Linked DNA regions of Homo sapiens: regions 2, 3, 4 and 5 are each linked to region 1. Evidence: promoter capture Hi-C in 16 types of primary human blood cells and fetal thymus (Javierre and others, 2016). All regions are on one chromosome and are shown on one strand. Each heading gives the region's core, a stretch centred on a gene start or on the middle of the fragment in contact. The rest is flanking DNA. Distances are from core to core; before and after follow the strand shown.

Region 1 (4,528 bases), core at 538-3,037:
CAACAGTAATAAAATATAATAAAAACAATCAAATAAACACAGCACAGACAGAAGCAGACCTCTGCCCAGGTAACTTCCACCACAATTCCCTTACCAAAGACCTCTTTCCTTATTTTGCTAAGATTAACAACTGATTTTTCAGTACTATGCCAACAACATTTCTTCTCAAGCTTTGCTGTCAATTCCATTGTGACCCACAGTTTAATTTAAAACCGATGTTGATTCACTGAGCTAGTAATTTTATTCGGTAATAGGTGAATTACTCCATAGTTGAGTGTGAATAACCGCCTGGTTAAATCAGGGCGGGTTTCTTAGAGGTGATACACTTACCGTTGAGCACAACTTTACTCTTTAATTATCGTGTACATTCCCATTTCCCTCCAAACACGTCAGTCCCTCTCCACACAGTGTTTACTTCTTTGGTCCTAGGGACAGCAAGAAACATTTTATAATAAAAGAGCACATGCTAATGTGTTTACTAGATATGACACTGCTGTGCAAAACTGTTTTCTTTTATGGCTGCACTGAAAGCATGCTAAGTTTACTGAATTCTTATTAAGTGTCCTAAGTAACAGAAATAGAAACTAGGTCTGGCCTGAAAATACCATTCACTTAAGTTAGAATTTATGTGCGCTCCTCTAGGTCCGCTATTGTAGTATCACTGCAAAACAATAATACTTTATCTCTGCACTTGTCTTTATTGGATTAATATTAAACAGAAAAAAATCCGACTGCACAGGGGAAAAAACCTAAAACCTTAACATGCATGCACATTAACAGTGACTGAAACATGATTAAAGCTAACACATTTAGCAGAAAAATGCAATCCCCAAACAAGCTCTGCGGCCCGCCTACTGAAATGCACCCGCCCGCCACTAAATGAAAATGCGCCTCAAGCTCATACACATCCTTATGTTAAGACAGTATGCACTCGATGTACTACAAATAAATTGTTTTCACGGAAATGATTCCCCGAAAGTTTGCTGCTGAACTCAGGACCCTAAGGACGTTTGCTTAGGGAATCCGTGTCCCTCGAGAACACCTAAGATGGGTATGCGTTTGTGCATTTAAAAATGCCTCAAGGAACTATTGCTGAGGAACAGAAACCATCGCCGGCGCAGAAGCGTTCGCGGACCACTTGGAGATAGATGCCAGTACAGCAATTCTGTTCCAGGAGGCTTCGGCTTAAGAGGGCCGGGGAGGAGGAGAACCCTCGGGAAATAGCAAAAAAAAAAAAAGATTTTTCTTTTTCACTCCAGCGACAGGAAAGCCTTAAAAACATAAGCAGCTCTCATACCCACCCGCCTCACCAGCCGCGCCTCGCAGTTCGACAAAATGCGTCCTAGCCTTCGCCACTCGCGACCTCTACCGCGCAGAGCCAGGCAATGAGGGAAAACAGCCAGCGAGGCCCGCCCTCCGGTGCAAGGCTCGGCATCCGCGGAGGCCCAGGGCCGGCCCCGGTGCGGCGGGCAGAAGCAAGCGCGGCGGCCCGGCCCAGCTCCGGTGGGCGGACGGCGGGACGCGCGAGCCGGCGGGGCCCGAGGCCCGGGTTCCGGGGCCGCCCGCGACTGCGTCTTTGCCGCAGAACAAAAGCGCTCTGCGCCGCGCGCAGGCCCGGACCGCGAGTGCCTCTGGCTCCCGGCTCCCGGCCCCCGCCCCGCCCGGACCCCGGAAGGCGGAGGGACCTCGGGGTGCTCGTCTCACACTTACCGACAAAGGGAAGAGGACCACCCCGGCAAGCGGGGAGAAAACCGGCGGCCTCCCGGGCCCCAGAGTTTAAGTCAAGTGGGGTCCGCCTCCAGGGGCGGGTCGAGGAGCCAGGCCCAGGATCCAGGAACAGCTACGCTCCGCCTCACGCCCGAGGCGGTGGCTGCGAGGGCCGCGCCGCCGCGGTCCTAGTGCCACCAGAGAAGCCGCGGACCCGGCCCGCAGATAACACCCGGGCTTGCAGAGCGCTTTCATCTGCCCGACGCGGAAATCTCCTGCAGCGATCTTCTACCTTCAGCGTGCATCCGCAGCACCCAGAGGGCACGTTAAAGAGAGATTGAGAACCACCAGCAAAACTGCTGATTCAGTAGGTTTGGGGTGGGGCTGAAAAATGTGCATTTCTAACAAGTTCCTGAGACCGACTGTTGCTGCTGGCCTCAGGACCAATTTTTTCTATAAAGCGCATGGAAGTCAGAGTGCACCCAAGAGATTGTTAACCCTTAAAAAACAGAAAAAAAAAAAAGAAATCAACAAGTTAGAGGCAAATAAGTGTGAAAGAAAGTGGATAGTCTATTTGGGGATTCTGAAAGTCCCTGAGGAAAGTTGACTTTGGAGACCAGATCACGAAGCACGACCTCTTAATTGCCGACCTTTTGTTATAGATTAACTCCCTTATTTTCTTGTTCCCAGCTCAGACCAGATGGCATCTGAGATAAAATACGCATTGAATAAGATAAATGACCGCTTGACTATTACATCCTTAATGTGGAATGTTAAATAGACCCTTCCCAAAAAGAAACACTGCCTTGAACCAATCAAATTGCTATGCGTTAACCTTCTATGGAAAATGTTGACATCCTGTTAAGCTTCCCAGACCCTGCCTGTGTAAACGACCCTCAAACTTCTCCCTTTCGAAGCACTGACCCCCATCTTTTGGAGTCTGTGTCCTACCGGGTCGCCATCCTCAAACTTTGCACTCAAATAAACCAATATTTAATCATATTGCCCGAATCTCATTATTAAGGTTTACGTAAGCGTTTACTTAGTAATGAAGGTTGCAACCAGGATGGCAAATCAGAGATTGTGCCACTGGAGAGGGGCAAGGGAGCTTATGTTTATAGGAATTTATTTGTTACATAAATTGTCAGATTAGTTCATTGGTGAATTAAACGAAGAAGTCTTTAGTCATTACTAGAAGAGTGCGTTTGCGTCTGTCAGAAACAAAACAAAAAAACTACATACAGAATATTCTTTCTTTTTTGGGGGGGGGACGGAGTCACGCTCTGTCGCCCAGGCTGGAGTGCAGTGGCACGATCTCGGCTCACTGCAAGCTCCGCCTCCCAGGTTCACGCCATTCTGCTGCCTCAGCCTCCCAAGTAGCTGGGACTACAGGCGCCCGCCACCATGCCCGGCTAATTTTTTGTATTTTAGTAGAGACGGGGTTTCACCATGTTAGCCAGGATGGTCTCGATCTCCTGACCTCTTGATCCGCCCGCCTTAGCCTCCCAAAGTGCTGGGATTACAGGCATGAGCCACCGCGCCCGGCCAGAATATTCTTAAAGATTGGGGGTGGCCAGGTGTGGTGGCTCAGGCCTGTAACCCCAGCACTTTGTGTCACGCGCATCCGTGTGAAGAGACCACCAAACAAGCTTTGCGTGAGCAACAAGACTGTTTATTTCACCTGGGTGCAGGCGGGCTGAGTCCGAAAAGAGAGTCAGCAAAGGGTGGTGGGATTATCTTTAATTCTTATAGGTTTTGGGAGAGGCTCCGCGGAACAATGTTTTGCGGGCAGGGGGTGGATCTCACAAAGTACATTCTCAAGGGTGGGGAGAATTACAAAGAACCTTCTTAAGGGTGGGGGAGATTACAAAGAACCTTCTTAAGGGTGGGGAGAATTACAAAGAACCTTCTTAAGGGTGGGGGAGATTACAAAATACATTGATCTGTTAGGATGGGGCAGAAACAAATCACAATGGTGGAATGTCATCAGTTAAGGCTATTTTCGCTTCTTTTGTGGATCTTCAGTTGCTTCAGGCCATCTGGATGTATACGTGCAGGTCACAGGGGATATGATGGCTTAGCTTGGGCTCAGAGGCCTGACAGTTTGGGAGGCTGAGGTGGGTGAATCACTTGAAATCAGGAGTTTGAGACCAACGTGACCAACATGGTGAAACCCTGTTTCTACTAAAAATATAAAAATTAGCCAGGCGTGGTTGTGGGCACCTGTAATTCTCAGCTACTCGGGAGGCTGAGGCGGGAGAATTGCTTAAACCCAGGAAGCAGAGGTTGCAGTGAGCCGAGATCACGCCACTGCACTCCAGCGTGGGCCACAGAAAGAGTCTGTCTCATGAAACAAAACAAACAAAAAAAGATTGGGGATCAGGCGTGGTGGCTTATGCTTGTAATCCCAGCACTTTGGGGAGGATCACTTGAGGCCAGGAGTTTGAGAGAGCAGCCTTGCCAACATGGTGAACCCAATCTCTACAAAAAATATACAAAAAACAAAAAAAATTAGCCAGGAGTGGTGGCATGCGCCTGTAGTCCCAGCTACTTGGGAGGCTGAGATGGGGGGATCACTTGAGCTTGGGAGGCAGAGGTTGCAGTGAGCCAAGATTGAGCCACTGAACTCCGGCCTGGGTGACAGAGTAAGAGCCTGTCTCGGAAAATAATAATAATAATAATAATAATATTGAGACCAGCTTTCTTGGGTTGTGTGTTGTTGCAAAAACGGTTGTGTTAGATATGAATTCTAAATTTCTCTTCAAAGAATCAATATGTCAGTATGGTCAATCTTTGCCTTTTACTTTTAAACTTAACTTCC
Region 2 (4,528 bases), core at 988-3,487, 370 kb before region 1:
AAGCACATAGAATCCCATGGTCAGTATCTAAGGGGAATAAAATGGGGGATAACAGAAGAGCTAGATCTGAAACAGAAATACAAAATCATTTATTGTTTGTGACAAATACCCCAAAGCCTCAGTTTTGTTTGTAGATTTGTTTGTCCATTGACTGTGCAAAGTTTTTCCAGAATTAAGTAATTTTAAGTATCCATAACTCACTGGATTTGCTGATTTCTGCTTTCACCACTTTCTCCACACATTCCAAAGTTGACTTTCTAAATAAAAAAAGTCTTATTTCCAGCCACATAGGCCTTTGTGAGCATTCCCTGAATATATTATTCTATTTTGTCACTCCAAAGCCTCTCTACCTACTGTTCTGTCTGGAATTACTTCCTCCTCCTCTGGAAAACAACTTCTTATCCTTTAATAACAAACTAAGGTATAATTGCTTCTGTGAAGTCTTTTCCGCTCCTCTAGGAAACCTTAGTTGCTTCCTCTGCATTGTTCTCATAACTTGGATTACAGCATGTGTAACGTTGAACTGTAATTGTGTTTCTATCCTGACATCCCCAGGAGGCTGAGTCTTCTGGAAGGCAGGGACCATGTGTTAGTCTTCTTTGAATCTTCAGCATCTAGCACAGTGCTAGATGGACGGTGCTTCATAAGCATTTACTGACTTCATCAGAAGGCACTGTGCCTATGAAAAAATCCTTAAGTAAATGAGAAGATTCATAGAGACTACAGAATGCCTATTTATTTATTTTTAACTTTTAAGTTCAGGGGTACAGCTGCAGGATGTGCAGGTTTGTTACATAGGTAAATGTGTGTCATGGGGGTTTGTTGTACCAATTATTTCTTCACCAGGTATGTAAGCCTAGTATCCATTTGTTATTTTTCCTGATCATCTCCTTCCTCTCATCCTTCAGCCTCCAACAGGAACCAGTGTGTGTTGTTCCCCTCTATGTGTCTATTTGCTCTCATCATTTAGCTCCCACTTATAAGTGAGAACATGCGGTATCTGGTTTTCTGTTCCTGTGTTAGTTTGCTAAGGATAATGGTCTCCAGCTCCAACCATGTCCCTGTAAATGACATGATCTCATTCTTTTCTTTCTTATGGCTGTATAGTAGAATGCCTATTTTAAAACAGGGAGATTTCCTTTTTTCCCCTGTACCCCAGAATTCTCACCTTAACCTTAAAAACAAACATTTCACAATGTCTAAATAAATATAGTGAATGTCATCTGTTAATACTTGAAGCTATTTACGGCAATAAGCATCACAGCAACAGCCCCAACATCATGAACGTGCAGACCAAATGCATTGCTAGAAATGTGTTTTCATTTAATTTACTGAGCCCATATAGACTGTAACTCTAATGTAATGCAAATGGTACAGGTTGAGCATCCTTAATCCAAAATCCAAAATGCTTCAAAATCTGAAACCTTTTGAGTGCTGACATGAGCCACAAAATTCTACACCTGACCTCATGTCATGAGTGGCAGTCAAAACTTTGTTTCAGCCACGGAATCATTAAAAAAATTGTATAAAATTACCTTCAGGCTATGTATATAGGAATACATGAAACATAAGTAAATTTCATGTTTGGACCTGGATCCCATCCCCAAGATAACTCATTATGTATATATGCAAATGTCCAAAATCCAAAATCTGAAACATTTCTTGTCCCCCAAAACATTTCGGAAAAGGGATACTCAACCTGTACCACAAAGCACAGTGAAAATAAAACTTCAGCTAGGAATGCTTTGTTCTGTTCTGATTTCCTGTGGTACTGTTTACATCACTCTAAAGTGCTTGATAAGTCCTGTCTTGTAAACAGCTACAGGCAATTGCGGAATTCCTACTAGATTATGTCATTTATTTTTGCATCCCTACTTACTGCCTCCCAGAAAATATGTAATCAATGAATGCTTGTTCACAAATTAGTCTCTGTTGGTTGGCCAAGTGTCCTTATCTATACCTCTGTTTCAGTTAAGCATCTTGATTTTTTTTTTTTTAAGACAGATTTTCGCTCTTGTTGCCCAGGCTGGAGTGCAATCATGCAATCTAGGCTCACCGCAACCTCCGCCCCCCGGGGTTCAAGTGATTCTCCTGCCTCAGCCTCCCGAGTAGCTGGGATTACAGGCACCCGCCACCACGCCTGGTTAATTTTGTATTTTTAGTAGGGACGGTGTTTCTCCATGTTGGTCAGGCTGGTCTCAAACTCCTGACCTCAAGTGATCCACTGGCCTTGGCCTCCCAAAGTGCTGGCATTACAGGCGTGAGCCATTGCGCCCAGACCTAAATTGTTAATATTCAACCTTTAGGAAGAAGTCAGAGAAGTTATCTGGATGGCTTGATCAAGAATGCCCCAGGATAGCATGTCCTTGTGTAAGCCTTATCTAATATGGTATTGGTTATTTATGACCACTCTGAATCATTGGGTCTTTAAATTATAGCAGAGTTACAATAATAAATTCCTTTATTCCGACCTAAAATTAGAGTCAGATCTCTCACAAATTCTTCATTCACTCTAATCTTTTCTTTTTTTATTTTATTTATTTTATATATATATATTTTAATTTACTTTAAGTTCTAGGGTACATGTGCACAACGTACAGGTTTGTTACATATGTATACATGTGCCATGTTGGTGTGCTGCACCCATTAACTCGTCATTTACATTAGGTAAATCTCCTAATGCTATCCCTCTCCCCTCCCCCCACCCCACAACAGGCCCCGGTGTGTGATGTTCCCCTTCCTGTGTCCATGTGTTCTCATTGTTCGATTCCCACCTATGAGCGAGAACTTGTGGTGTTCGGTTTTTTGTCCTTGCGATAGTTTGCTGAGAATGATGGTTTCATTCACTCTAATCTTTTCTATTTCTCTAAAGTGACAACATAAAATAAAGTCATATTTTGCCCTTAGGTTTATATAAAACATGTTAATAGTGCAAACAATATTATGGCTTATGGTATAGATGTCAATTATATAAATAGATTTATGGGAACTAGAGATGAGGACTTGAAAGCTGCACTGTAGATGAGATAATAAGGGCGTGGTTTTCCCCAGATGATGGCAAATGGAGAAGACACTCTGAATCTGAAATTAATCCTCATTCTCCAAAGACCAAGAGCTCCCTTGACCTACTATTCACTGGCACTGCTTGCGTTTGCAGGAGGGTATTTGGTGCTTTGTTGCTTCTCTTTATCAACACCAACATTTATTCAGCACCTTTCTCAAATATGTGTCTTTCAAGAATATCTTTTCAGATAAACTAAATAAAGGTGAAAATAATTTTCCTGCCTATATTTCGCAGCACTCCCACCAAGGTAAAACTCAGGGTGAAAACAATTTCAGTCATTAAGGAGGGCTGGGAATTAGACAGGTTCATGTTGTAACATTACTACTTGTCCAGAAGGACAAGATCAATAGCTAGGAAAAGCTCCCTATTACTTAACCTCTGACCCAGGTGGGTTAACATCCCAAATGAACCTAAATTTCAGATACGTGGTCAGTAGCACAGGTAGAGCTCATTCTTATACTCTCTCACACACACTCTCTATTATTTCCTTGCTAAAGTGGCCCCAAACTATTTAATTTGTTGGTAACAATCTGTCTGGCTTTGTTTCTGTTACTCACTCAGGTCCTCACAGTTGTCTTGCCTTTCATCCCTGACTTATTCATTTATTTAGCGCTCTTGTTTCTCTAAGTTTGGGATGAAGGACAAAACACTCCTTTTAATCTTGCTATACTTGGCTGGGCGCGGTGGTTCATGCCTGTAATCCCAGCACTTTGGGAGGCCGAGGTGGGCGGATCACTTGAGGTCAGGAGTTCGAGACCAGCCTAGACAATATGGTGAAATTCTGTCTCCACAAAAAGTTAGCCAGGCATGGTGGCACATGCCTGTAATCTCAGCTGCTTCGGAGGCTGAGGCATGAGAATCGCTTGAACCCAGGAGGCGGAGGTTGCAGTGAGCAGAGATGGCGCCAGTGCACTCCAGCCTGGACAACAGAGCGAGACTCTGTCTCAAAACAAAAATAAAAAATAATAATAATAATAATTTTGCTATACTCCTAGAAATTGAGTCTTGAATCTGAACCTCCAGCTCCAAAGCTGGGGTCCAGTTATTGGCCATCAGACCTTCTTCACCATATGTACCCAGATTTCCCTCTGTTTGCTCTAGCTGCCTGCTGGGTGTTTGTCTTTCTTGCTGTATCGCCCTGGTTGGTGTAACCTGCCTTGCCAGCCTATTCTGCCACCCTCCATCTCCTGTTTCCACAGCCACTCACTGCCAGGCTTCAGCCCAGCACCGCCTGAGCTGCCTTTCTACATCTGCAGAAAGGCATCTAGATCTTCTCCTGTGTTCCTGCTTTAAGTTCCTCACCTCTGCCTCCACCTAACTGGGCACAGGTATTTCATCATTTAAAAACAATAATTATTATGACATTCTGATCTGGCACTGGGACAGTTTTATTTATCCACTTACCAAGAATCTGAACTCTCATCTTGACGATACTCGATACTCAATAAAATTAGGGAATAAATT
Region 3 (4,528 bases), core at 643-3,142, 330 kb before region 1:
AGAGATGGTATTTCACTATGTTGCCCAGGCTGGTCTCAAACTCGTGAAGGCAATCCTTCTGCCTCAGCCCCCAAAGTGCTGGGATTACAGGTGTGAGCCACTGTGCCCAGACTTCTACAAATTTAATATATATTTTTTTTTTTGGTAGAAGCAGGGTCTTGCTCTGTTGCCCAGGTGCCTTAATCACAGCTTATTGTAGCCTTGACCTCCCAGGCTTAAGTGATCCTCCCACCTCAGCCTCCTGAGTAGCTGGGCCTACAGATGCACACCATCACGCCCAGCTAATTTTTAAATTTTTTATAGAGGTGGGGTCTCGCCATGTTGCCTAAGCTGGTCTCGAATGCCTGGGCTCAAGCAATCCTCCTGCTTTGGCCTCCCAAAGTGCTGGGATTATAAGCGTGAGCCACTACACCCGGCCCATATTCTATAGATGTTAACTGTAAATAACTCCCTTTGTCTCTGGTTTTCAGAGGCATGTTCAGTTGTCTATTTGAACATGGTGATGTTTTTTCTTCTGACTTGACTCCTGAGTACAGCTCTTCCTAGTTCTGTTTATGCATATGTGAAAACAACAAATTATAAACACATAATCTTTCATGTAAAAAATGAAAAATTCAACTCCAAAATCACTGATGCAGTTCCAGCTAATAAAATAGGCAGACACTGTAATCTCTAAGTAGTGGCGTTAGCTCAGAGTTTTGGGGAGGATAAGGGGTTGTTGACTGTGGTGTAAAGACAGATGTTAAAAAAATTATTCTGACACTTGTTAAAATGGTAAGGAAGACTTCATTCAAAACCATTGCAATTGGAGGGGGGAAAAGAAGGGGCTCAACTCTGAAACAGCAAGAGCAAGTGAAGATTTATAGCCAAGAACAGCATGAGGATGTCAAAGGATGGGAAATTGCTAAAAGAACACATCAAGGGCAGGGGAATTCTTGCTAAGCTGGCCTAACAGGACTCTTGCTAAAGGCAGTCCAAGGACTTAGACATCAAAAAGGTGGAGGATGAAGAACTTGATCAGATATCAAGGGTAATTAGATATCTAGGGTTGGGAGATGACTTAGCAGAATTCCTTGCTAAGGCTGGGCTGGGCAAGCCAAAGCTGGGGGTGGAGCAAGCTTGAAGCCTGGTCCAAAAGAGACATTAGCAGAGCATGACTGAAGCTTGGTTAAGGAGAGAGTCTTTGACACCTCACAGTCATGAACTGCAGTCTGATAGGAATGAAAGCTAAGAAAGTTTGCAAGACACTTTACCTGGTGATAATATGAATATAGATCCTAACTTGGGCAGGGCCAAAGCTTTTTTGGCATCAGAAGATTTTTATCCATTCTGTATCTTATCATCATAAAAGCTCACTGGCTAGCTTGTAAGGAGTTCCCCAGAGACGTGCAGATTTCATCAATTTAATGTAATATCCTATGGAATGTAATCATCAATCCTGAAGCTGAAGCTATACAAACTAATTGGTTGTTTTGGAAACCTGCTTTCAACCTACTATATGTAACCTCATTTATATATAAGGGGTTGGAGCTCCTTGTTATTCAGAATGCTTCTAGGCTGTCTGGCGTTTTTCACTTTAGCTCTCATTATAATAAACTGGTAACTCCAACAGAGTCATTTCATCAACACTTTAGTAATTCACCTATGCCTACTCCACCAGTTGACTTTAGCCTAATCCTCCCTTTACAGCTTCCCTCTGTTTTTATCAGTGCTGACCTCTTAAAGCAATTCTGTAGGTCACAAGTGTCAACATAGAAGTCTTCTGAAAATAGAGTTTGCCAACTTAAAAGAACCTTACCAAAGGCTTCTATGAATTTCCTAAAAACAAAAAAATGGGCTTCTGTTTCTTGCCTCTCTACAGGAGATTATTTTAAGCAAATATGCCTGAATTTATGAAATAGTAAATATTGGTATATAATACTGTTTAAAGGTGGTTTTCCCAGCTCTAGAAAGCTACGCCCAATCATCCTCTATAAACAACAGACTCTGGGGCTGGGTGCGGTGGCTTACGCCTGTAATCCCAGCACTTTGGGAGGCCAAGGTGGGCGGATCACAAGTTCGAGAGATCAAACCATCCTGGCCAACATGGTGAAACCCTGTCTCTACTAAGAATACAAAAATTAGCTGGGTGTGGTGGCACGCGCCTGTAGTCCTAGCTACTTGGGAGGCTGAAGCAGGAGAATCACTTGAACCTGGGAAGCAGAAGTTGCAGTGAGCTGAGATCGCACCACTGCACTTCAGCCTGGCAACAGAGCAAGACTGTCTTAAACAAACAAACACACAAACAAACAACAGACTCTGATATCACAATAGATATATGGAATAGCAAAAAAGAATTTTCTTATTTCTGCCAAGATAACTGAAAAAAGTTAGCAATGACCCCAAAAAATCATAAAATACAATTTACATACAATACCTACTTTCACACTCTGTGGGTATGGTGCAGTGGGGAAGTGGAGGTCCCTTTGCAAGTTTCAGAAGCTTTCAAAGAAGTCACATGATCTGGCCCTACCTCTGTCTCCAACCACTCTGCCCCTCAATCTTTGGCTCTGGCCGCAGGAGCTTTCCTTCTGCTCCTCTATCCCATTGGACATGCCAGCTTGCTTCTGCCTTGAGGCTTCTATACTCCTCTTTCCAGAACTCCCTGCCTTTAGATCAAGGGCTCCTAATCTCATAATGTGCTTGACCCTCTTTGACAATGTGCTGAAGCCTATGTACCTCTTCTCAGAATAATATTTTAAAAAGTGTAAAAGACAAAATTACAGAAAACACCGAACATGTTAAAATTACTATAATTTTTTTTTTTTTTGAAAGAGTCTTGCTCTGTCACCCAGGCTGGAGTACAGTGGCATGATCTTGGCTCACTGCAACCTCCGCCTCCCAGGTTCAAGTGATTCTTGTGCCTCAGTCTCCCAAGTAGCTGGGATTACAGGTGCCTGCTACCACACCTGGCTAATTTTTGTATTTTTACTAGAGACAGGATTTCGTTGTGTTGGCCAGGCTGGTCTTGAACTTCTGACCTCAAGTGATCCACCTGCGTTGGCCTCCCAAAGTGCTGGGATTACAAGTGTGAGTCACCAAGCCCGGCCAACTTATTATAATAATTTTTAAAATTATGACATAGGCTGGGCACAGTGGTTCATGCCTGTAAACCCCACACCTTGGGAGGCTGAGATGGGAGGATCACTTGAGTCCAGGAGTTTGAGACCAGCCTGGGCAACATGGTGAGCCCCATCCAGAAGATTATTTTGTACAAAAAAAGAACATGCCAAAATTAGCCAGGTATGGTGGTGCACACTTTTAGTCCCAGCTAGTCAGGGGGCTGAAGTGGGAGGATTGCTTGAGCCCCAAAGGTCAAGCCTGCAGTGAGCCATGATCATGCCACTACACTCCAGCCTGGGCTACAGAGTGAGACCCTGTCTCAGAAAAAAAAAAAAAAAAAAAAAAAATTAGGACTTGGTAGGTGACAGGTAAGTATATTAATGGCCCCCAATTAATCACACTTCCCTGAAGTCACAACCCATGGAATTCCCTCTCAAACTGACTGAGCTGGCCTTTGGATTTGTTATGACCCACAGAAGACAGTGGAAGTGCTGGGGAGTTCTGAGCCTGAGCCTCACGGGGCTTTGTGGCTCATGCTCTTGCTGTCTTGTAACACTGTGACTATGTGAAGAGCCCCAGGGTAGCCTGTTGGAGCCATGTGGCCCAGCCTGCAGTCAGCACCAGCTGCTGGGCATGGGAGGAAGGCCATCTTGGACTATTTGGCCCAGTGGGGCTGTCAGATGACTGCAACCACATGAGCAATCCTGGCAAGTCCTTAAGAACCACCCAGCCGAGGCCGGGCACAGTGGCTCATGCCTGCAATCCCAGCACTTTGGGAGGCCGAGGCGGGCGGATCACAAGGTCAAGAGATCGAGATCATCCTGGCTAACACGGTGAAACCTCGTTTCTACTAAAAAATATAAAAAAGTAACCAGGTGTGGTGGCGGGCACCTGTAGTCCCAGCTACTTGGGAGGCTGAGGCAGGAGAATGGCGTGAACCCAGGAGGCAGAGCTTGCAGTGAGCCAAGATCGTGCCACTGCACTCCAGCCTGGGCGACAGAGACAGACTCCATCTCAAAAAAAAAAACAAAAAAAAAAACACCACCCAGCTGAGCACAGCCCAAATTGCTGACCAACAGAATCATGGGTTATTGTTTAAAGCTCCCAAATTGTGGGTCATTCATTACCCAGTAATACATAATCAATACAGTAATACATGTGCTTCTTTATTAACACAATTAGAATCAGATCTAGTATCACATCCAAGAAATCTCATAATTTCAAAGCAATGATAACATTTCAAGACACCTGTGAAAACTGAGATATAATTTAAAAAAACTATACTTTCTACTGGTAACAAAGTAACAAGTGCTACTAGTACTACTGAGATTTGTTGTCTACATTCAAATAGAAGAAAATGCTAAATTTCAGTCTGAGTTGAGTGAAAATACAGATGTAATTATTTTTCTGATCCAAGTCTATAGAC
Region 4 (4,528 bases), core at 1,116-3,615, 310 kb before region 1:
GGTCCCTTCATGGTCGCCAAAATGTTACCGGGGATCCTTGCTCACAGAGCTCCCAAAATGGTGGCAAGCCGCTTCCAAGATGGTGGTGGGCGGCTTCCAAGATGGTGGCAAGCCTCGTGTTCTCTGACCTGGGGTTCTTGGCCTCACGGATTCCAAGGAATGGAATCTTGGGCCATGCGATGAGCTATTAGAAGCTGTGGGTCATGGAAGAGAACCGTGGAACCCAGTGACTAGTGTTCAGCTCGATTAGGACGAACCCAGGCACTTAGCCGTGCAGGAACAATGGCAAGCTTTTAGCACAATCGGGAGTGGCAATGGGAGTCTCGCTGGATCAGGAGCACAGCGGACACCCTGCCGGATCTGGAGGGATGGGAGTCAGCGGCGATGGGAATCAGCGGCGGGTCTGCGACAGTGGCAAACAGCAGTGGTGGACGGCAAGCGAAAGCTCAGCTCCAGCCGTAACAAACATGGACCAGAAGAGTGCAGTAGCAAGATTTAATAGAGTGAAAACAGAGCTCCCATACAAAGGGAGGGGACCCAAAGGGGGTTGCCCCATTTGAAGATTCTTTGAAAAAACTAACAGCAGGCAGATATGACTCTAACTCATCATATGAACAAGTTAGGATGAGGAGATACTGATTCCAGACCCAGAAATTATAAAAATATAGACGGTGACTAAAAAAAGTCTCACTCCCATCTTGTTCCACATCAGTCTACTTCCCATCCTCACTCCCAAACCACTGTTCCTAGTATCTTATCTATCCCGCCAGGGTTCCTTTATACCTTACTTATTTTCAAACTTTATTTATAGAGCCAGCTTATGCCTACATGAAAACCAACATAGTTAGCATAATTTTATAATGAACGAATCACTACAAAGGTATTTTATTTATACGTGTAATTTACAACTTGATTTGCAAATCAAGGGATTAAAAGTTAATCCCTCAGGGGACTGAAATATGAGTGTGTGTATATATCATATATCTAATGATAAACATATAGATCACTAGAATGTGTATCTCATATGGCGATCTTCAATTACAAGCATGAATTTATTTTTAATAAGCACTTACACAATGTTTACAATGTGCCAAGACTATTACAAGCACATTGTTTTAGAAATATAAAACTCTTTTAACCTTTTAGCCTACATAGCAATCCTGTGAGTTGGACACCATTATTAGTCCCATTTTACAGCTTGGCCAACTGAGGCAAGGGAGGTTATGTAATAATTTGCCAAAAGTTTTAGAATAAAATAAGTGGTATCAGGAGTCAAACTCAGACTGTCTAGTTCTAGAACATATGTTCTTAACCACTATGCTTTGCTACTTCTAAAAATGCCTTATTAACGTGATTTGTTGTTGGAATGGGGTGGCTAATGCTAATCAGATTATTGTTATCTCTGTCTTTAGGTCATAGTTTCCCTTTCTGTGTAAAATAACAAATTAATATAAATATAAATATAAACGCCTCAGTAAAGTGGCCTCAGATTATGATTTAGTGGATACTATTTCTGAAAAATATATTGCTTTATTATTTTCAAGATGACTTCCTACAAATTCTTCAGAACTGATTCTGGAGCTAATGGTAGCAATAGCTGCTCACATTTTGAATATTCATTGCCTTTTAAATAACTTTCATAAGTAGAAAACCTGGTTACTGAAACAGAGCAATATCTGTGACCCTGACTATCAAAATGTGTTTCCAGAATCTTTCCTGTTCTGTATTCCATGACTGTGAGTACAATAGGGTAACTAATATAGAATTTCAGTTCTGATGTTCTTATTAAAGTTACAGACTTCGAGGTATTGATCTGTCTTAAGTTGGCTGCCACGCTGATTTTCTACAATCATATTAGAAGTCTAGAAAACTCAAAGATGTGTTTTTAAGTAACTATATGTTAAATGTGATCAATTTTTTTCTACCTCTTACAATCTACATTAAAGTGTCGAAAAGAACTCTTCTTACCAAGGTCCCCCACGAAACCCTGCCTTCAAGCCTAAAAGAGCCTGAAGGCTGAAGAACTGGACTGCTGGTCCCGGATAAAGCCTGCCCTTTCTCAGCTGATTCTCTCTGAATAATGCCCACCTGCACACTGGGGGAAGAGGGTGGAGCCAAGAGAAGTTTACGCTTGTTCAGCGGGGAGGAGCCTGGCCTCTTCAGTTCCTGTGTGGTGGCCTGGTGTTCAGTCTGTGAGGTGGAGGGCCTGTTGGCAAGACTCCCTCTCGCTTTGCTGAGAGTTCTTTTTCCTTTTTCCTTTTCACCCAATAAATTCTGCCCCTCACCCTTCTATGTGTCCCTGAGCCTAATCTTTTCCGGTTGTGTGACAAGAACCCGGTTTTAGCTGAACTAAGGAGAAAGTTCTGCAACAATGATAAGGATGAAATGGACTAGCTAGTGATTTCTACTATGTTATTTAAAGTCTGAAACTGCCTTGAGGCACCCTCTACTAGCTGATCATTATTACTGAAATTTAGACACCGCTTGGTACGTGGTTTAATCATCCAGTTTCAGCAATGTGACGGGGGTATAATGGCTTTTCTGTACACTTGTATCTTGGCTTCCCTGAAAACAGATATCATGCATGCATCTTGGTGGTTCACACCCAAACACAGAGCACATCCAGTGAGCCTGAGGAAAGGCGCTGCTTGCAGGAGTCTCAGCCCCCTCTGTGTCTGCTGGTACTTGCTTTCTCCCGCTGTACCTTATCCTCCAGTTTATACTCTACCAGTATACCCTTTGGAATCTTGTGAGTCTTTTCAATGATCTGACTCTGTGTCACTACTCCAATTTCAGTAAAAGCAAACAAAAACAGAAATCGAGGCTATGAGAGTAGAGTGCAATAATGATGAATTCTGGCAGCCACCCAGGAAGACACCATTGAAAAGACAAGGTCCTGCCTCCCTTACGTCTTGCACACTCATGATGCTGAGCCTGTCAGTGACCAAAAATCAGACTACACAAGTCAGCCAAAAGTGAAACAGAGGTGTCAAGCATATGAACTGCATCTGAAAGTTTTTGCCTTCCTAAGAATATTCTTAGGCCTCTTCTTCACACACTCCAGAGCAATGAGAAACATTTGGAATTGAATTTTCCTATAAACTATATCTTTGCAGATAGACTTTTAAAACCAAATAAAGTCCTGTGGGTTTTTCTTTTCTTTCTTTTATACGAACATAACAACTGCTTCACTGTCATTACTTATTTTCCAATCTAAACCCTCCACAAGAGTCTAGAACACCATGTGACTCAAAATAAACTTTTCAATCAATTACAAGGCCATTGAAATGGAAAATCTTGATTTTTAAAAATGTTTTAATATGTTTCCTTAACCACATTGTGGCAGGCCAGGTCTCACTAGTAGCTGAGATTACAGGTGCACGTCACCACGCCCAGCTAACTTTTTGGTATTTTTAGTAGAGACAGGGTTTCACCATGTTGGCCAGACTGGAATAAACAAGTTTTATTGTCAGTCTGAAGAAATTCCCCAGGCCTCCACACACAAGTTTATTGGAGGTCTGAAGGAACTCCCCAAACCTCTGTGATTTAGCAGGAGACAAGATAAGGGTAATCACCCTAGCACCTGGACCCATTTAGATTAAGTAAATTTACTGAGGCTCCAGAGAAAGGTCTTCAGGACTCAGATCTTAGTTATAGATTAAAAGAAGTTAATCACTTATGTCTTTAGATGAATGCACACTTATATGTAGACATACAGCTTGGAAGGTTTATAAGCTCTGGAAAACTTTGTAATTTTGAGTTGGTGTGGTGACAATTTCTAGGCCTTCTCCCTGTAACCAAATGCAAAAATAAAACCTCTCTTCCCCAGTTTGTCTGCATCTCATTATTGGGCCAGGAGAAGTAGCAGCCTGACCCTCAGTTTTGTCCAGGAGCAACATGTATATGATTTATACATTGAAAAGAAATTTCTCAGTCATAAAAGAAATAGTGAAAGAACATTATGATTTAACAATATATAACTAATATGTAATATTAGTGGTTGGGAATTAAATATGGCATAAGTAGTTAAATAAAAAGTAACTTGTAGTACATGTTTTACTACAATAATGGGTAAACTGAGGCCCAGAGAGATTAAGGAAACAGGTAGATCATAGAGCTAAGAAATGAGAGATGTAGGTTTTGACCCAGGAACCCTTAAGTATGAGCTCCTTTCACTAAGACACCTTGACATTGTCTCTTGGCTTCAGGCAGTAAGTAAAAGAAAAACAGATGGAAAGGAAACAATAAAATATGCAAAGAGAAAATGAAGAATTCTCTGAAAATTATCAACTTTAAATCGAGATCCAGGCAATAGGATTAAAATACTGAGCACAAAGTTTGAGGAGGGTCACCCAGGAGGACTCCAAAAAGATGGGGTTAGTGCTCTGAAGCAGCGAGGTTTGAGGATTGTTTATACAGGCACGGTATGGGGAAGCTTAACAGGATGACAGCATTTTCCACACAAGGTTAGTGCACAGTCGCAGCAATCTGACTGGTTTTAGGCAGTGATTCCTTGGGGGAAGGGAGT
Region 5 (4,528 bases), core at 1,405-3,904, 290 kb before region 1:
AGAATGAGCCAGCTATCTGGGGCAAAGCACCACAAGGAGAATGAACAGCCAGAGCAAAGGCCCTAAGGGAGAAAGCAGCAGCACGCAGGCCAGTGTGGCTGGAGCAGTGTGAGAGGTAAGCAGGTGCCTGATCACAGCCTTGCAGAACATGGTAGAAACTTTGGGTGGTTTCTCCAAGTTCCATGCCTCATCATTAGAAGATTTTTAAGCCAGTGAGTAATATGGCATAAACAAGGAATATCTGTAGAATAAATGAGCATTTTTAAAGGTTCACATTAGCAGTATGCCTCTACTACCTTAAGAGGTAAGATTTTGGCATGGATAGGGCTTTTTCAACCTCTGTCCAGATGACTGGCACATGGTGGCTGTTATGAACTGAATGTTTGAGTTCCCCCAAACTCCTATGTTGAAGCCCCAGTTCCCAATGTGATGGTAATTGGAGATAGGGCCTTTGGGAATTAAATGGGATTGGATGAGGCTATGAGGCTGGGGGATGATGGGATCAGTGGCCTGATGGAATCAGTGCCTTTATATGAAGAGACATCAGCGAATCTGTCTTGTTGTCTCTTTCTCTCCATGCAAGCACAGAGGAAAAGTCACGTGAGGATGCAGCAAGAAGGTGGCTGTCACAAGCAGGAAGAGGGCCCTCAGCAGGAACCAAATCAGCAGACACCTCGATCTTAGACCTCTCAGACTCCAGAACTGTGAGAAATCAATTTCTGTTGTTTGGGCCACCTGGTCTGTGATATTTTGTTATGGCAGCCCAAGCAGACTAATACAGTGGCCAAGATCTTGTCCAAGAAGAATGAATGAATCTCATGAAAACACTGAATGCATCTTACTTAATGCTTCTGCTTTGGGAGAAAAAATGCCTCTCGAGCTCAGGGAGAACAAAACAGACTAATTAAACAAGGAGAATAGTAAAGGAAATTGCTTTTTAAGCAAGGTTATATATTGGTTCATTGCTCATTTCTAATTGCACCAGAGGGAAACTAGATAATAGTAGTCACTAAATTCCAGAAGACTTGGCCCAAATTTCCTTCATCTAATTCAAAGGCTCGATTCAGCAAGGGGCAGATGATGCGACTGTCCCAATTGAATGAGACAGTGACCACACAATGTGCTGCTCTTGACACAGCATGCTGAACAGAGGAGGAAAGATCTTGGGGAAGGTCAGGTTTTTATTTATGTGCTTGTGCTGCCTATGGATTTCTAAATAGATGTTACAAGTGATTATGTCAAAACGTGGTACCTGTTAAGAGATTTAAATTTTCTATTTTGCTAATTCAGCAAATATTCACTGAGCACCTACAAATGCTAGAGCCTACTCTGGAAGCTTGGGATACAGCAGTGAATATGGTAGGTGGGGTATGGCAGTGAATATGACAGGTGGGATACGGCAGTGATTATGGCAGGTGGGATCTGCCAGTGAATATGGCAGGTGGGAATATGGGCAGTGATTATGGCAGGTGGGATACGGCAGTGAATATGGCAAGTGGGATATGGCAGTGAATATGACATGTGGAATATGGCAGTGATTATGGCAGGTGGGATTCGGCAGTGAATACGGCAGGTGGGATATGGGCAGTGATTATGGCAGGTGGGATACGGCAGTGAATATGGCAGGTGGGATATGGCAGTGAATATGACGTGGAATATGGCAGTGATTATGGCAGGTGGGATTCGGCAGTGAATACGGCAGGTGGGATATGGGCAGTGATTATGGCAGGTGGGATACCGCAATGAATGTGGCAGGTGGGATACGGCAGTGATTATGACAGGTGGGATACAGCAGTAAATATGACAGGTGGGATACAGCAGTGATTATGGCAGGTGGGATATGGCAGTGATTATGACAGGTGGGATACGGCAGTGATTATGGCAGGTGGGATACGGCAGTGATTATGACAGGTGGGATACGGCAGTGATTATGGCAGGTGGGATTTGGCAGTGAATATGACAGGTGAGATACAGCATGAATATGACAGGTGTGGTTCCAGTCCACAAGAGCTTGTATTGCAGTTAGAGGGAAACAGAAAATAAAACAAATCTAGGAAATCTCACATAGTGAAAAATGTTAAAAATAAAAAAGAAGTGTGCTAGAGAGTGACTAAGGAATTATTTCTGTCATTATTTACTTACTATTTGTGATGAATAAGCATTAATTGGAAGCTTAATATTGACCTCTGCTTTCTTTTTCTTCTTAAAAGAGGAAACAGTCTGATCACTTTTACTATAAAAATAAAAAAAAAAAGAATCCACGGCCTTTCTTGAGCTCTTATCATCAAATTAAATTTGTATATTTTGAGTCCTTTTGAAAGGGAAAATGGAAAATGCTGTTAGAGAAGTCCAGTGGGGCATTAAAGTCAAACGATGAGTCAGATTTGGAAAGTAAGCATTTTGAAAGCTGGGACCAGGTTTTCCTCAAGTCTGCATCTTGCATAGCAACTAGCATAATTCCTGGCATTATTAATAATGTAACAGAAAAAAGGGCCAATATATTAACAAGCAGCAATTCAAAGAAAAAGGAATCCAAATGGCTAATAAACATAGTAAGATGCTGGCTGGGCACGATGACTCACACCTGTAATCCCAACACTTTGGGAGGCCAAGGCGGGCCGACTGCTTGAGCCCAGGAGTTCAAGACCAGCCTGGGCAACATGGCAAAACCCAGTCTCTACAAAAAATGCAAAAATTACCTGGGTGCGGTGGTGTGCACCTGTAGTCCCAGCTACTCAGGAGGCTGAGGTGGGAGAATCCTCTGCCTTCCATATGAACCCGGGAGGCAGAGGTTGCAATGAGCCATGATCATGCCACTGCACTCCAGCCGGGATGACAGAGTAAGACCCTGTCTCAAAAACAGAAACAAAAAACGAAAGAAAACAAAAGTAATCAACAACAAAACGATAGTAAAATGCTAAAACCAACTGTGTAGCATCCTATAGGAGACATATCATGACTACAAGATTAATGATAGCTATAAGGCATTAACAAGCTCTCACAGGACTGACACTATGTGCCACTTAGCAGCGTGAGGCCACCTGGCCTGGGGATTTCCAAGCTGGCCCAGGGATTTCCAGGACATAAGGCCACCTCATCACGGATGCAAATCTCGTAAACCTTTAACAAAGCTTACCCTTATAAGACTAGCTTAACCTCCTCTTATGAAAGAAACGCCTGATAATTGACTGAACTAAATGCAGGTAGAAGAAATGGGAAGAATCTCCCAAACTCTGAGAATAGTCTCCAGATGGAGACCCTCCTGGACAGGCAGTCATCTGACCTCTGATTGAATCTGGCCCATGCCACCCACCTGCTCCCACTATCCGACTTGTAAGACCACTGCTAAAATAAATAGCTTGAACATCAGATGGTATTGAAGTCACATCTTTGATGTGAATCGGACTGAAGGGAAGTTGCTTCTAGGGAAACTGGTTTGCTAGGACCATCGAAAACCTCCAAACATGGCAAATTTATAACTCAAGTGAAACGAAGTAAAAAGAGAAGTTATATATATAATATATACAAGATATATAATATATATAAAATATATAGTATATATTATATAATATTTATTATAAATATATAATATGTAATATATAATATATAATATTTATTATAAATATATAATATATAATATTTATTATAAATATATATTTATAAATATATATTATAAATATATAATATATAATATTTATTATAAATATATATTATAAATATATGATATTTATTATAAATATATATTATAAATATATTATATATATAGTGGTAAAGTTTTAAAAGTTTTGTAAAAAAAACAAACTCCCGAGCGCCCCAAAACCGTGTGGAAATATGAACTCTTACTCATCACTGGAGGGAAAGATAATAGATGTCTTTTGAGAAGGCAATTTAAAAAGAAGTATCAAAAGTGTAAATGTACATCCTGCTTTACCTGGAAACTACACCAAGAACAACTTATCCCATGGATCTGTTTGTCAAAATGCATAAATATGAAAGTATAAAGATATTATTTATGATGCAATTTATGAAAATAAAAACTTGAAAATAAACCAAGACTCCATTAACACAGGGAGCTGGACACATAACATCTGGTGCATCCATATAGTAGAACAGTATGTAGCTGTATATAAAAGAATGGAGAGTTCTAGAAAATATACAATTAGGTGATAAAAATCAAGGAGCATTAAACATTTCTGAAACAATATATGAGTGTTAATAGTGGGGTCTAGAACGTGAGAAGGGCAAGGAAAAGATTCTTCCCTAGAGCCTCCAGGAAGAAACCAGTCCTGCTGATGCCTTAATTTTTCACCCAGTGAGACGCATTTCAGAATGCTGAGCTACACAACTATGAGATGGATTCGTGTTGCTTTAAGCCACAAAGTTTGTGGTAATTTGTTACAGCAAACTAATTTAAGTATTTACTTCTATAGCATGGGACTGGAGGTTGAGGTAGTGAGGAGGAAGATTTTATTTTTATGTCATTCCTATTTCACTTAAATATTTTAACATATGCATATATAACTTAAAA

What was found. Contacts are between HindIII fragments. The CHiCAGO score rates a contact against its expected background, and 5 or more counts as called.
Region 2: a contact is called between a fragment that was not itself captured here and the fragment with the promoter of RESF1 in region 1, in 1 of 17 cell types (total B cells). The highest score is 5.7, in total B cells.
Region 3: a contact is called between a fragment that was not itself captured here and the fragment with the promoter of RESF1 in region 1, in 5 of 17 cell types (naive CD4 T cells, total CD8 T cells, erythroblasts and 2 more). The highest score is 9.9, in naive CD4 T cells.
Region 4: a fragment that was not itself captured here is called in contact with the fragment with the promoter of RESF1 in region 1 in 2 of 17 cell types (naive CD4 T cells and naive CD8 T cells); the score reaches 7.5 in naive CD4 T cells.
Region 5: a contact is called between a fragment that was not itself captured here and the fragment with the promoter of RESF1 in region 1, in 1 of 17 cell types (fetal thymus). The highest score is 5.7, in fetal thymus.

The regions. Positions count from the first base shown.
Region 1 is chr12:31,956,674-31,961,201 of GRCh38, reverse strand. It overlaps RESF1 (retroelement silencing factor 1), which reads right to left and starts at 1,787. Exons shown (of 6, transcript NM_018169.4): 1 at 1,711-1,787; 2 at 331-425. LOC105369725 (a long non-coding RNA gene) reads left to right here and starts at 1,898. Exons shown (of 2, transcript XR_931503.2): 1 at 1,898-2,074; 2 at 2,398-2,709. RefSeq lists a silencer at 1,477-1,816 and enhancers at 2,869-3,662, 3,666-4,165. The HindIII fragment of the contact is 2,403 bases long and covers 173-2,575 here.
Region 2 is chr12:32,328,605-32,333,132 of GRCh38, reverse strand. All of the region lies in intron 5 of BICD1 (BICD cargo adaptor 1), which reads right to left. Among named protein-coding and RNA genes, the nearest start is that of FGD4, 69 kb to the left of the region's middle. The HindIII fragment of the contact is 4,608 bases long and covers 1-4,528 here.
Region 3 is chr12:32,287,145-32,291,672 of GRCh38, reverse strand. All of the region lies in intron 2 of BICD1 (BICD cargo adaptor 1), which reads right to left. Among named protein-coding and RNA genes, the nearest start is that of FGD4, 110 kb to the left of the region's middle. The HindIII fragment of the contact is 1,183 bases long and covers 1,301-2,483 here.
Region 4 is chr12:32,271,549-32,276,076 of GRCh38, reverse strand. The region is part of intron 2 of BICD1 (BICD cargo adaptor 1); the gene reads right to left. Among named protein-coding and RNA genes, the nearest start is that of FGD4, 130 kb to the left of the region's middle. RefSeq lists a silencer at 4,415-4,528. The HindIII fragment of the contact is 4,145 bases long and covers 293-4,437 here.
Region 5 is chr12:32,251,217-32,255,744 of GRCh38, reverse strand. The region is part of intron 2 of BICD1 (BICD cargo adaptor 1); the gene reads right to left. Among named protein-coding and RNA genes, the nearest start is that of BICD1-AS1, 150 kb to the right of the region's middle. RefSeq lists an enhancer at 2,963-3,302. The HindIII fragment of the contact is 959 bases long and covers 2,175-3,133 here.